5 separate regions of the Homo sapiens genome follow, and all the other regions are linked to region 1. The links are contacts of gene promoters, found by promoter capture Hi-C in blood cells and fetal thymus (Javierre and others, 2016). All regions are on one chromosome and are shown on one strand. Each heading gives the region's core, a stretch centred on a gene start or on the middle of the fragment in contact. The rest is flanking DNA. Distances are from core to core; before and after follow the strand shown. Region 1 holds the start of NREP-AS1 (NREP antisense RNA 1). Region 2 overlaps STARD4-AS1 (STARD4 antisense RNA 1). Region 3 overlaps STARD4-AS1 (STARD4 antisense RNA 1). Region 4 overlaps STARD4 (StAR related lipid transfer domain containing 4). Region 5 overlaps STARD4-AS1 (STARD4 antisense RNA 1).

The links. The method cuts DNA at HindIII sites, captures the fragments that hold promoters and counts their contacts. A CHiCAGO score of 5 or more calls a contact.
Region 2: a fragment that was not itself captured here is called in contact with the fragment with the promoter of NREP-AS1 in region 1 in 4 of 17 cell types (M0 macrophages, erythroblasts, M1 macrophages and 1 more); the score reaches 7.4 in M0 macrophages.
Region 3: a contact is called between a fragment that was not itself captured here and the fragment with the promoter of NREP-AS1 in region 1, in 2 of 17 cell types (M1 macrophages and M2 macrophages). The highest score is 6.8, in M1 macrophages.
Region 4: a contact is called between a fragment that was not itself captured here and the fragment with the promoter of NREP-AS1 in region 1, in 1 of 17 cell types (monocytes). The highest score is 5.4, in monocytes.
Region 5: a fragment that was not itself captured here is called in contact with the fragment with the promoter of NREP-AS1 in region 1 in 3 of 17 cell types (M1 macrophages, erythroblasts and M2 macrophages); the score reaches 6.6 in M1 macrophages.

What each region holds. Positions count from the first base shown.
Region 1 is chr5:111,911,148-111,913,949 of GRCh38, forward strand. NREP-AS1 (NREP antisense RNA 1) reads left to right here and starts at 1,361. Exons shown (of 4, transcript NR_046678.1): 1 at 1,361-1,573. It also overlaps a transcript of NREP not described here. The HindIII fragment of the contact is 1,485 bases long and covers 1,307-2,791 here.
Region 2 is chr5:111,556,434-111,559,133 of GRCh38, forward strand. The region is part of intron 1 of STARD4-AS1 (STARD4 antisense RNA 1); the gene reads left to right. Among named protein-coding and RNA genes, the nearest start is that of STARD4, 45 kb to the left of the region's middle. The HindIII fragment of the contact is 730 bases long and covers 918-1,647 here.
Region 3 is chr5:111,527,629-111,530,328 of GRCh38, forward strand. All of the region lies in intron 1 of STARD4-AS1 (STARD4 antisense RNA 1), which reads left to right. Among named protein-coding and RNA genes, the nearest start is that of STARD4, 16 kb to the left of the region's middle. RefSeq lists an enhancer at 2,416-2,700. The HindIII fragment of the contact is 5,472 bases long and covers 1-2,700 here.
Region 4 is chr5:111,509,220-111,511,919 of GRCh38, forward strand. All of the region lies in intron 1 of STARD4 (StAR related lipid transfer domain containing 4), which reads right to left. Among named protein-coding and RNA genes, the nearest start is that of STARD4-AS1, 1.7 kb to the right of the region's middle. RefSeq lists an enhancer at 1-84. The HindIII fragment of the contact is 1,073 bases long and covers 758-1,830 here.
Region 5 is chr5:111,599,769-111,602,607 of GRCh38, forward strand. All of the region lies in intron 1 of STARD4-AS1 (STARD4 antisense RNA 1), which reads left to right. Among named protein-coding and RNA genes, the nearest start is that of STARD4, 89 kb to the left of the region's middle. The HindIII fragment of the contact is 441 bases long and covers 1,098-1,538 here.

The DNA.
Region 1 (2,802 bases), core at 111-2,610:
CCCCTGCACCCAGTGTTCTGGATATCACCCCGGCACCCAGCAATCTGGATATCACCCCTGTACCCAATGTTCTTGATATCATATCTGCATCCAGAGTTCTGGATATTACCAGTGCATAGAACAGTGTCTGACACATAGTAGCTACTCAGTAAGTTTTTCTAAATAGACTGATGAATATATAATCTATTTACTTATTTTATATTTTTTACTTACACACTTTGCAGAAGCATTACCTATTTGTTAGTTCAACCCTACACAATTGTGTTCAATAACAAAGTATCTAGCCCATTAATTCTGCACTGCTATTATCTCTACTTCCAATGCCATTAATCAAGACAATATTGAGTAAGCACATACTAAGTGGCAGAAACCCTGGGCCTTGGAAAGACCCTCCAGGAGTGAGCTGGAGATATGTTATATGCTTGGACTTCTTCCCAAGAGCACAGATGTCATAAATAATTCACAACTAGATGAGAAAAGGAGATGTCAAAGAAATTAAATGACTCATAAGTGTGCTACTATTATTCAGGCTCAATCTGACCTCTTTTTGACTTTGGTGAGAGGGTCTATTTTTTTGACCATCTAAAAGACATAAAAATAGACACCAATTATATGACAAGTTGCAAAAGCTTGAGGAGACCTCTGCATAGACATAGAATCCAAACCGAAAATAATTTATACTCATTGCCTACCTACTATGTACCTAGCACTGTGCTGAGCCATATACACACAGCATTTCAGGTAGTGCCCACCACCATCCTATAAGCAAGTACTAGTCTTCACCCCATTTTACAGATGGGATAACTAAGTTGTGGGGAGGCTAAATAATTTGTCTAATGGTACACGATTGATAAGTGCCAAAGACAAAATATAAATTCCTGTCTGTCTACCTTATAAAGATGTAAATTTAGGAGAACCAGCTTCTCTTGAATTGCAAATTTTATGCTAGAATATCTAATATTTAAATTAGAGCATTCCTTGAACTTTTGTTGGCCAGTTTAATTTTTCTTTCATCTTGTGCACACATTCGTATGGTAACATTCTCCAGTATTTTCCTTGCACCCTTTTTTCATCATGCTCTTCTCCCCAATTCCCTCATCCAGAATGGTGTGGCTTCCGTAAGTGACTAAAACCCACCCTGGCAAAATGAGCTAGGGTCTGCCCTGCTATAATTCAGACAGATCTGAATTACTTCTTGACCCTCCTCACTTCATCCACCCTGCACCTTGCCTGCCCTGTCCCCTGGTGCCCTTGACTACTAGTCTGTTTTCTATATATTGTGACTGTATACACACCTTGCCACTGAAGCTTGAGTCATAATCTATTCTATCTGTATCTCTGAAAATGATCTTTACTTCAACTTTCCTAAAGGATATAGATTTCTCTCTTCTTTGGCTCCAATAATTTGTGCCCAAACTTCAGACCAGTAATTCCCCAGATGAGCCTGCTGCTACCCTACTTGCGTCTTACTTTTGCAAGCTGTTTCCATTCTTATTAGGCTAATAACTGAAGACAGGATCAAGATATCTTTCTAACCTATCCAAAATACCTGAATATTCTGTCACATTCAACAGTAAGTCAATACAGGATTATGTATACATCTTTGTATTCTTCATATTACCCAGTCCAGCCTTCTGCACTTAATAGGTACATGAATAAGTTAATCAATAAATGAAGGAATAGTTGGTTGTTTGATGAATAGCTGGAGAAGAACTGGCATCGTGCCTAGGTAAAGTAGAATATTATTTCATAGGTACCACTTGTATTTTTTTCTTCCTACACAAAGTGTTTAAGAAATATTTGTTCATTAAGATTATTAGCATTGACCAGTAATTGATTTTGAGTCACTTATTTGGCTTACAATATTGTTTACTTATTAGCTACAATGTGTAAGACACCTACTGTACAGCAGCCAATATCTTGAGTACTTTTACAATTTTTCATTTTACAGCACAACAAAAGTTGAAGGTAAGTGTTAGTATCCATTTTTTACAGTAAAGGCAGGATAGAAGGTTCAGAGAGGTTAAGTAATTTGTAGAAGATTTCTTAGGAAATGAATAGGAGTCATGGATCCCATGTCACTCTAATTTCAAATTCTAAATTCTTTTACTCTTTCTGCTATTTTGCACTACTTCATTTTAAAAGCGGTCTTATAAAATATCCTTCTAAAATTTTTCAGGTGTTTTTCAGGAGATAAGGAACTAGCACATTGCCTTTCATTAATCCATTACAGCAGACTAGGTTGCAAGATAATCTAGCTGTTTCCTAGCAGAAGAAAAAGAATGACCTTGAATAAATGGAACCCAGCATCACTATATTTTGATGTGAGAAAAGGAAGTTGAAAAGATTCAAAGGATAGACATCTTCCCAGATTAACAGGGATGTGAGTTCATAGTTCAGGGTCCTAAGTGACTGAAGAGTAAAATGAGGAGGCTAAATGCCCAGATGAGACAGTAACAAAAGATAAAAGGAGGAACTAATCAGACAATTGGGTAAGAGGATGATAGTGAGGAATGGGTGCTGAAAACATGCTTTCCTACTTCACAAATATTTTGAGGAATAATTAAGATTTGTAGGGAGAAAAATGAATTCCCAGCTCTACCTTCTCCCCGTCTCTGGATTTGATTATAGGGATGAGGCTATTACTACAAAAAACTAAGGGTATGAGAGGATAAGAGAAGTAGAAGAGAATTCCACCCTGAAATAACATCAGCTTTTAAAAGTTACCTAATGATGGATGAGGGTATTCAAGTCAAACTACAGATTTACTTTAAAAACTAAAAGCATGCCAAGCTTGATTTA
Region 2 (2,700 bases), core at 33-2,532, 350 kb before region 1:
TCTACTTTGAGTTAAATTTGTAGCTAGTGTCAGGTAAGGGTCCAGCTTTTCTCTTGCATGTGGATATCCAATTTCCCAGCTCCCTTTGTCGAAAGACTGTCCTTTCTGCATTGAATGGCCTTGGCACCCTTTCAAAAATCATTTGACCGTATATGTGAGGGTTTTTCTGGACCTTCTATTCTATTTTATTGGTCTATATGTTTTTCTTTATGCCAGTTCCGCACTGTTTTTATTACTCTATCTTTGCAGTAAGTTTTAAAATTAGGAAGGGTGAGTCATCCAGCTTTGTTCTTCTTTTTAGAGACTGTTATAGCTATTCAAGGTCCCTTGATACTCCATATGAATTTTAAGATAGATTATTCTATTTCTGCAAAAAGTATTATTGGGATTTAATAGGGATTGCACTGAAGATCACTTTGTGTGGTATAAAAATCTCAACAATATTAAGTCTTCCAATCAGTGGACATGGAATGTGTTTACATTTATTTATGTCTTCTTTAATTTCTTATAGCAACATTTTGTAATTTTATTGTTTAAGTCTTTCAGCTCTTTGGTTAATTCGTAAGTATTTTACTCTTTTTAGTCTTGTTGTAAATGAGATTGTTTTCATGGTTTCTTTTTCAGTTCATTGTTAGTGTATAAAAAATCCAATTAATTTTTGTGTGTTGATTTGTATCCTGCTCCTTTGCTGAACTCATGTATTAGCTCTAACAATTGTTTGTGGAACCCTTAGCATTATCTACATATAGTAACATGATATCCACTGTGAACAGAGATAAATTTTACTTCTTCCCTTCCCATTTGGATAATTTTTATTTTTTTTCTGGCCTAATTGCTTTTGCTGGGTTTTCCAGTGCTATATCAAACAGAAATGGTGAAACTGAACATCCTTATTTTGTTCCTGATCTTAGAGGAAAAGCTTTCAGTCTTTCACCATTGAGTATGATGTTTGCTGTGGGTTTTTCTTTACTGAATTTTATTATGTTGAGGTAGTCTTATTCTATTTTCAGTTTGTTGCATATTTCTGCCATGAAAATATGTTGAATTTCCTCGACTGCTTTTTTCTGCACCAATTGAAATGATCATTCATTTTTTATTTTATTCTGTTAATATGATGTATTATGTTGAACATTTTTTTCTATGTTGAACTATCCCTGCATTTTAGAAATAAATCCCGCTTGGTCATGGTGTATAATTCTTTAAATATACTGCTAATTGTGGTTTGCTAGTATTATGTTGAGAATTTTTGCGTTGGAGAACTTTATCCCTTTTGTTCATAAGAAATATTGATCTTCAGTTTTCTTTTCTCTTAGTGTCTTTGTCTTCATTATCAGGGTAATGCTGAATTCATAGAACAAACTAGGAAGTGTTCTCTCTTCTTCAATTTTTTGGAAAAATTAGAGAAGTAGTGGTATCTGTTATTTAAATGTTTGGTAGAATTCACCCATGAAGTCATAATATCTGGTGATTTTGTTTGTCAGGAGATTTTTGGTTACTGACTCAATCTCCTTAATAGCTATAGGTCTATTTAGATTTTCTGTTTCTTCATGACTTGGTCTTGGTAGGTTTTATGTTCCTAGAAATTTGTTCATTTCATCTAGGTTATCTAATTTGTCGGTGTAAAGTTGTTCATAGTACTTCCTTTTAAGCTTTTTTACTTTTGTAGAATCAGGAATAATGTCCCCAATGTTATTTCTGCTTTTAGTAAACTGAGTCATCTCTTTCTCTCTTAGTCAATCTAGCTTAAAGTTTGTCAATTTCATTGATCTGTTCAAATAATCAACTTTTGGTTTCATTGATTTTTTCTGTTGCTTTTCTATTCTCTTATCTCTGATTTAATTTTTAATTATTTTCTTCCTTCTGCTGGCTTTGGGTTTAGTTTATTCTTCTTTAGTTTATTACTTATTGTAAGGTTAGGTTATTGATTTAAGATCTTTCTTGTTCTTTTAATGTAAACATTTGTAGCTATAAATTTCCCCTTTAGCATGACCTTCACTGTGCACTATATTCTGTAAGTTTTGGTATGTTCTGTTTTTATTTTTAGTTTTCTCTAAGAATTTCACAATTTCCCATTTGTTTTCTTCTTTGATCATTAGCTTTTCAACACTGCATCATTTAATTTCCACAAATTTGTAACTTAAAAAAATTGTACTGGTGTTATTGATTTCTAACTTTAACCTATTGTGGTTAGAGAAGATGCTTTGTATGATACTTGCCTTTTAAAGCCTAATGAAACTTAATCTGTGGTAAAACATACAGTGTATCCTCTAAAATGTCCCATGTGCATTGGAGAAACGTGTGCTGTTTTTGTTGGGTAAAATATTCTGTATATATCTATTATTATGTTAAGTCTGCTGTTTCCTTACTCGTCTTCTATCTGGTTGTTCTAGTCATTATTTAGAGTGGCATAATAAAGTCTCCAGTTATTATTGTAGAACAGTCTGTTTCTGCCTTCAATTATGTCAGTTTTTGCTTCCTATACTTTGGTAGTTATTAGGTGCATAAATAATTTTTATTATTATATCTTCTCACTGCATTAATATTTTTGTGAATATATAATTTCCTTCTCAGTGTTTTGTAATCTTTTTTGATTGAAAGTGTATTTTGTCTGATATTAGTGTAGCCACTTCTGCTCTCTTTTTGTTACTATTTCCATAGAATATCATTTTCCATCCTTTCACTTTATTTGTATCTTTGGAT
Region 3 (2,700 bases), core at 167-2,666, 380 kb before region 1:
TAGAGTATTGTTAATATAATTTGGGGTATCAATAAAGTAAAATTATATACAGTCGTTAAGAATATGTTATAGAAAAAATATTGATCTGAAGAAAATATTTGCAAATTATTGAATATAAACATGAAACAAGGCATGTAACAGTATATATAAATTCTAGAGAAGGAACTATATACTCTTTGATTCAAAACTTTTGTTTCTGAGACTTTTAAGAAAATAAAAAAGAAAGGGTAAAAAGAACCCAAGTTCATCTTCATCTAAGAATTGTTTTTAGTAGCATAAAAATTAGAAACTGCAAGTCCAAAAATACGTGATTAAATTTCCATTTCCAATCAAGAAGCCTGACAAAAGACATTCAAAGTATATTATCTGACCACAATAGAATTAAATTAGAAATCAGTAAAGTAATCTGGACAAAACTCAAATATTTAGAAAGAAAATTACACACTGCTAAATAACCCATGAGTCAAAAAAGAAATAAACAAAAAATTAAGATTTTTAAAAACTGAATGAAAATAAAAAAGACATATGAAAATCTATTGTTTACGACTAAGGCAGTAATCATAAGGAAATTTTTGCTCTAAATATCTAAATTAAAAAAGAAGAAGTCTCAAGTCAATGACATCAGCTTCCACCTTAAGAAAAAAGAATTTCAAGTTCCTTAAAAGATACAAACTATTCTACTAAGCTCATTCATGAAGAAATAGATAACCTGAAGAGCACTATATCAATGAATGAAATTAAATTTAGAGCTTTAAAACTTTCCACGAAAATTCCATTTTCAGATGTCTTCACTGGTGAATTCTATGAAACATTTAAGGACGAAATAATAGCCTTGCAACCCAAACTCTTCCAGAAAATTGAAGTCTTCCCAACTCATTCCACGAGGCCAGCATTATTACATTAAAGCCAGAAAAAGATATTATAAGAAAACTACAGAACGTTATTCCTCACGAACGGAGAGACAACAATTCTTACCAAATTATAACAAATAAAATAATAAACAATTTATTAAAAGGATAATACATCATGACCAAGTCGGGTTTATCTCAGGGATGCAAGGTTAATTTAACATTTGAAAAACAATCAATGTAATTCACCATGTTGACAGACTGGGGAAAAAAAAAAAAGAGATGACGAAAAAGCATTTGACAAATGCCCAAAATCTAATCCCAATAAAAACAGTCAGCAAAATAGGAATAAAAGGAACAACCCCAACCTGATCAAGGGCATCTACGAAACTGTACTGTTAGCGTCTTATTAATGATGAAAGATGAAATGTTTTCCCCTAATATGAGGAAACAGGCAAGGATGTCTACTCTCTCCCTTCTATTCAACATTGTCCTGGAGGCTTTAGCCAGTCCAGCCAGTCAAGAAAAAGAAATAAGAGATATCCAGATTGGACATAAGAAAATAAAATTTTCTTTATCCACAGATGAAACGATCATCTACCTAGAAAACCCTATGGAATTTATATATATGTATTACATCTAATAAGTGAGTTTAACAAAGTTGGGAGATGCAAGATCAATATAAAAAATCAAGTCTGTTTCTATATACTAGGTACATACATACATACATAATTAAAATTAACATAATACCATTTATACTGGCATAAAAACATGCCATTAAATATGCATATTAGGGATAAATATGAAAAAAATGAACATGGCCTGTATATTGCAAACTAGCAAACATAATGAGAGAAATTAAAGTCTAAGTAAATAGAGATAAATGGCATGTGTTTGGATAAACATGACTAAAATATCAATTCTCCCTATTTGATCTACAGATATAATGAAATCCCAATTAAAATCTCAGCAGGCTCATCTGTAGATGTTGACAGCTAACTCTAAAATTCATGTGGAAATGCAAAGGGCATAGAATAGCCAAAACAACTTTTAAAAAGAAGAACTAAGTTATCTAACTTTTACTTCCTGTCTTCACATCTTGGTATAAAGTTACATTGATCAAAATTATGATATTCAATCAAGATAGACAAATAGGTCAATGAAATAGCCCAGCAATAGACCTATACTTACATAATTAACTGATTTTCAACAAAGACATAAAGGCAATTTAAAAATATGAGATCGTATAAATTATTTTGTATAGGATGCAGGTATTAAATTTTGCTATAAAAATGCACATGTCAACATATCGAGATTTTCCTGATATATTAAGAGAAGAGTATAGGGTCTTAAACAGTAGGTAAATTATTATTCTATTTTTTAACGGGATCTATATTTTTTCAAAAGGATGCATATATACACATACACATATACAATAAAAATAATAGTAAGAGCCTAGAATTTTTATAATTTTAGTTTTGCTTTTAGTGTTTTTGCTTCTATTTTGTTATTTATTTATAATAGACATGTACTATAATAAATGACAAAACCGAAACATTAAAATACTCTATAATTATTATATAAAATACAGTAAATATTGTTTTGGGGGAAAATTTATGTGTGTGGTATGAAGACTGAAAGATATATTCCAAATATTAACAAAGAGAGAGTTACAGATAGTCTTTTAGCTTTGTGTCTTCCTTGGTTTCCAAATATTTCACAGTGGGCACACTTGCTTTGAAAAATTATAAAGGCTATAAATATCATTTTTAAACTCTCAATAGTTCCATATAACCGTTGAGCTAAAGATCTAACTTCTTCATCTGACATGAAGATCGTACATGAACAACAT
Region 4 (2,700 bases), core at 44-2,543, 400 kb before region 1:
AAACATATTCTTTAAACCCAAAGGTCACCTGCTAGGTTCCTGTGGTTGGCAGATAAGAGTATTTATGCAAAACTTTTTGATAGAAATCAAAGGTGAAACAGAAAGTTATTATTATCATAAGCAAACATTATCACTGGGCAAATCCAGTGCACGGAAAGTTACCTAGAAAGCTAGCTACCTAGAAGAGATGAGAATCTGCAACTTTAAGGTACTTGACTTAGTAATTCATACTGATCAGTATAAAGTTCAAGCTCCTTACTATAGCTTACAGGCCCTTTTATAATGTGGCATATTTTCATTACCTAATTTCCACTTATCTTTCCTGGATTCCCCTGAACCTGGGTTAGTTCCCCCTCCAATATTTTCTGACAGCAACTCTGTACTGTAATTATTCACTTGTTATCTTCTCCCGTTTAACTGTAAAATCTTTGGGGGGTAGGAAATCTGGCTTGTTCAATATTAATTCTCCTTACGTCTAGCACTCAGTAGGAACACAGTGAATAAAAAATGGAAAAATGTATAGACAATAAGCTACCATTCTCACTTATGGAAGACCTCAAGATATCTAAAGTATGCCCATTTACGCCAATCCTAGAGCTTCTGAATAACTAAAACTTCCTTTACCATAATGAAACACCATTTCTCAAGAAGGACTACTATTAAATATTTATCAAGCATCTATTATATACCAGGTCCTAGAACTACAGAAACAGATGGAATTCAGATTTTACTCTCAAATTGACTTATTCCACCCTTAAGCTTTAACAGAAATAACAACAACAAAAACTAAAACATTAAAAAATTCTATTAATAGCCTTTTTAAGAGTGGTGCAGTGGGAGGTAGGAAAGGAAGAGAAAGAAGTACAAAATCAGAAAGCTCTCTCTGATTAAATATGTCCAGCAATGTATTTAACCAAACAGTTAAGTCTTGCATGGATTATTTTCATCAAGATTAAGTCCATAATGAAATAATCATTGCCATCAAAACTGCTACCTCTGTGTAAACAGGCATAATTGAGCATTTCTCAAAATATTAATATATTCTAGAACCAAGAGGGTTGGGGGAGATGGGTTATCAAGGTCTTGGCTCTCTCTCCTAATATAACAGGGTACTGACATTAATTGAGAGGAAAACACCTAATTTGCCCTCCTGCAATCTCCAACTGTGGAGAATGTCAGGTAAATGTTTTAAATGCCATTCTGAACCCATTCTGAACTTCCTTTTACTAATTCAGTCTTTTATTCCCTTATCTTGACCTTATATCAGGAAATTATCCAACTCTAACATTTACACGTCAGAGAGAACAGGCACCACTTAACCTTATCAGAATATAATAGGTTCATATAAAAGATTTTATACTCTTGTCAGTCCCATGGCCAAATGCTGAGTAATGTCCACCTCCATGTTTTTCCTTTAATCTTTTTGTTCATGTTTTCTATGCCCATGCTTTTGAAGCTATCACTAGTGGTGATAGTGGCTGCCATCATAGGGAGGGCAGCTGTCTCAAGTTACTTTTCTTGAGGCCATCTATCAGCACCATAGTCTTGACCAATCCAACTCCAATTATTCTCAAATATCTGTCACAGTGAGATGGCATAGGTTCTATTTTAAATATGGAACATAATAAAACATTTAACCTGTAATGTAAAGTGAATGCCATAAAAATCTGTTTGGACTTTTGTAGTACGACTAGGTCAGAATTCACTTGTTAAAGAAATGCAGGTATCAGAACGGTCTAACCTTGCATTACTTGATTAATATGGTTTTCACTTCCGTCAACAGCTTCAGTTTAACATGCCATGGACTTTCCCCAATGTCATACAAACCAAAGCTTTGTAAATTAAATTATATTTTCTAACTAACATAAAAATTTCAGCATATGCTTGATTTCCAATCAATGTTGAACTGTTAAGTTTTCTAACTCAGACAAGTACAGCAGCTTCTCATTTTTTGAGACTGGCTCTGGCAGGAGCTCACTATTTAAAGAAATGCAACATGGAAGTATATTTCTACAATATGAATAGTGAGCCAACTTACTGTTCAAACCCCTAATGCTCTAATACTTGATTAAAAAAAAAACCTAATGCTCTGTACTTGATTTTAAAAAATAACAATAACATTTATTGATCACTTACTACATGGTCAGTCCTTCTGGCTGCTTTACATTGCATTTATTTTATTTAATCCTCACAACAGTAATAGTCCTCCTTGAGAAAATGTGTTTCATTATGGTAAAGGAATTTTAGTTATTCAGAAGCTCTAGGATTGGTGTAAATGGGCATACTTTAGATATCTTGAGGTCTTCCATAAGTGAGAATAGTAGCTTAATGTCTATACATTTTCCCTGTTTTACAGAAAGGGAAAATAGCAACAGGAAGGTTGAGTCACTTGTCCAAGATCACACAGTTCATAAGTGATGGAGCCAGAATTCCAACCCAGGGCGTCTGACTTCAGAGCCTAAAGCTCTCTCTTGTAAAACTGTGGAAGCTGATCACAGGCTGGAAAAGACTTCATATAAAAAACCTGGGCCCACCAAATATTTGTCAAGTTTTGTCCTGGCTGCTGAACCTAAAAATCTAAGGTAATCTTTCTCAAGTGTAAATTCGGGAAAACAATGACACTGATTTGGTGAGAAATTATTTGAGTTAATACATTTAGCAGGGACCTTGGAAGGCAGTAAGCCCTGGGAAAACTTTGTC
Region 5 (2,839 bases), core at 68-2,567, 310 kb before region 1:
GTTTTCATTGTCCTGAATCTTTGAAAATTGGCCAATACTGGGGATGTAACACACACCTCTGAAAAAGTTAAATAACCATAGAGTGCTATATGTATTATATAACATTAGTATTAGTTTTTAGTATTGGCAATAGTATTAGTTTTTATTGCTGCTGTAAATCTTAGTGGTTTAACACAATACAATTTTTTTCTTTTTTTTAAGTTTTATTTTAGGTTCAGGGATACATGTGCAGGTTTGTTATATAGGTAAACTGCATGTCTTTGGGGGTTTGGGTACAGATCATTTTATCACCCAGGTAATAAGCATAGTACCCAACGGGTAGTTTGTTTTTTATTGTCTCCCTACTCCCACCCTCCACCCTCAAGCATTCACCAGTGTCTATTTTCCTCCGCTTTGTGTCCATGTGTTCTCGTTTAGCTCCCACTTAAAAGTGAGAACATGTGGTATTTGTTTTTCTGTTCATGGATTAGTTTGCTTAGTTTAATGGCCTCTAGCTCCATCCATGTTGCTACAAGGGAGATCACAATAAAACTTATTATGTACAGTTCAATAGTTCAGAAGTTTGATGGGTCTAATGATGCTATATCAAGATGCCAACAGGGCTGCATTCTTTTCTGGAGGCCTTAGGGAAGAGTCCAATTCCTTACCTTTTCCAGATTCTACAGGTCATCTACAGTTTTTGCTTTATGGATCCTTTCTTCCATCTTCGAAGCCAACCACATACCTTCCATAATCACGTATCTTTCTTTGACTCTTCTCTTTTGCCTCCCTTTTCCACTCTTAAGTACCTTTGTGATTACATTGAACCCACCTGAAAAACCTAGGATACTCTCCCTATTTTAAGGCAGCTGAATAGCAACCTTAATGTCACCTGCAGCCTGAATGTCCTTTTTGTCATGTAAACTAACCTAGTCACAGGTTCTGGGCATTAACACGTGGACATCTTTGGGCAACATGACATTATTTTGCATACTGCAAGTGCATTCTCCTTTCATAGCAAGAAATATTTTTTTTTTCAGTTGCCTGCTTACTTGCCTGCTTCTCTAACAGACTGTGACTATCTCCTTTTCCCAATCTTGTTCCAGTGTCTACCATGAAGCTTGTTCCATAGTCAGTGAAAATTATAATTTCTGGGTTTGTTAGCTACAGAAGATCGGGGAAAAGACAACTAGGCAGGAGATTAGGCTTTCTGGAAAGTGATTGACTTTGTTATTGCTGTCTCTTTGGCACTTACATCATAGATTTGCAAAAAAAAAATGTTTGGGAAGTGAATGGATAAATAAAGGTGGAATTTGAGCTGGACCTTGAAAGATGGGTAGCATTTGAATAAAAAAATGAACAAGTTATGCCTAGGGCTCAAAGAAGAGTTGATGAAAGTAATAGCTGGTGTCTAGGGCTCACAGAGGAGAGGATAGGTTTTTGAACAGGCAGGGTCAGGCTGGGTTACAGACAGCCTCGGGAAGCAGCCTGGGGAGTAAAGGCTTATTGTTCTCTGTAGACAGTAGAAAATCCCCAGTGCTATTACATACCCTACATCAAGCTTACTCCTTTGGAGATCTCATCCAGTCCCATCAATACCATCCGTACATTGATAACTCTCAAATGTGTGCTATATCCAGACCCAGTTTTTCCTCAGGACACCGTGCTCACATACTCAAGTGCCTGCTTGACATTTCCATGCAAATATCTAAAAAAAGAATTTCCAATGCTTCAAAATGAACTTCACATGTTCGAAACAAAACTTCTGACTCTCACACCTTTCCCCAACTTTCTCTTTTCCTGGTGTTCTGCATCTCAATGAATAAATACTCATGTCTTCCAACTGCATGGGAGAAAAACTATGGTGTCTGCCTTCTTTCACACCCCACATTGAACTTATCAGAAAATCCTATCTGCTCTACCTTTAAAATAATTCCAGAATTCAACAACTACTTCTCAGTACCTTTGGTACTAAGTCCTAGTCAAGTCACCATCATCACTCCTCCAGGGTTATTATAATGGATTCCTAACTGGTCTCCTTCATTTCACCATTGTGCCTTCAGTCTCAATAAAGTAGTCAGAGGAATCCTTTTAAAATTCTAATTATACTTGTATTCAAAACCTGCAGTGGCTCTGAATCCCATATAGTACAAAAGCTAAAGTCCTTACAATGGCCTACAGTCCCCACACCATGTGGCCCCTGTCTTCTTCCCTCCCACTCATCCTCATTGCCTACCATGCTCTCCTCTCTCACATGCACTCTGCTGCAGGCACACTGGCCTCCTTGCTGCTCCTTGAACACACCATGTCTGCATCTGCCTCAGGACTTTGGCACAGTTCTGCACAGTTCTCTCTATATAGGCTGCTCTTTTTGTAGATCTTTCCATGACTCTCTCTCACATGCTCACTCATCCGTTTCCTTAAAGTCTCTGCTGAAATATCACCTTACCAGAAGGGCCTTCCTTCACCACCCAATATAAAATATTATCCCCTCCCCAACATTCTCTATTCTGCTTCCTAGGCATTCTTCCTCTCCATAGCATTCACCAATTCAAGTGCATCTGATTTACTTCATACTTGTTTATTTTGTGCCCTCTCCACTAGAAATGTAAGCTCCAAAATAGCAGTGACTAGGCCTATTTTTTTTTTTTTTTTTTTTTTTTTTTTGAGGCAAAGTCTCGCTCTGTCACCCAGGCTGGAGTGCAATGGTGCTATCTAGGCTGACTGCAAGCTCCACCTCCTGGGTTCATGCCATTCTCCTGCCTCAGCCTCCTGAGTAGCTGGGACTACAGGCGCCCACCACCACGCCCTGCTAATTTTGTGTGTGTGTGTTTTTAGTAGAGACGGGGTTTCACCATGT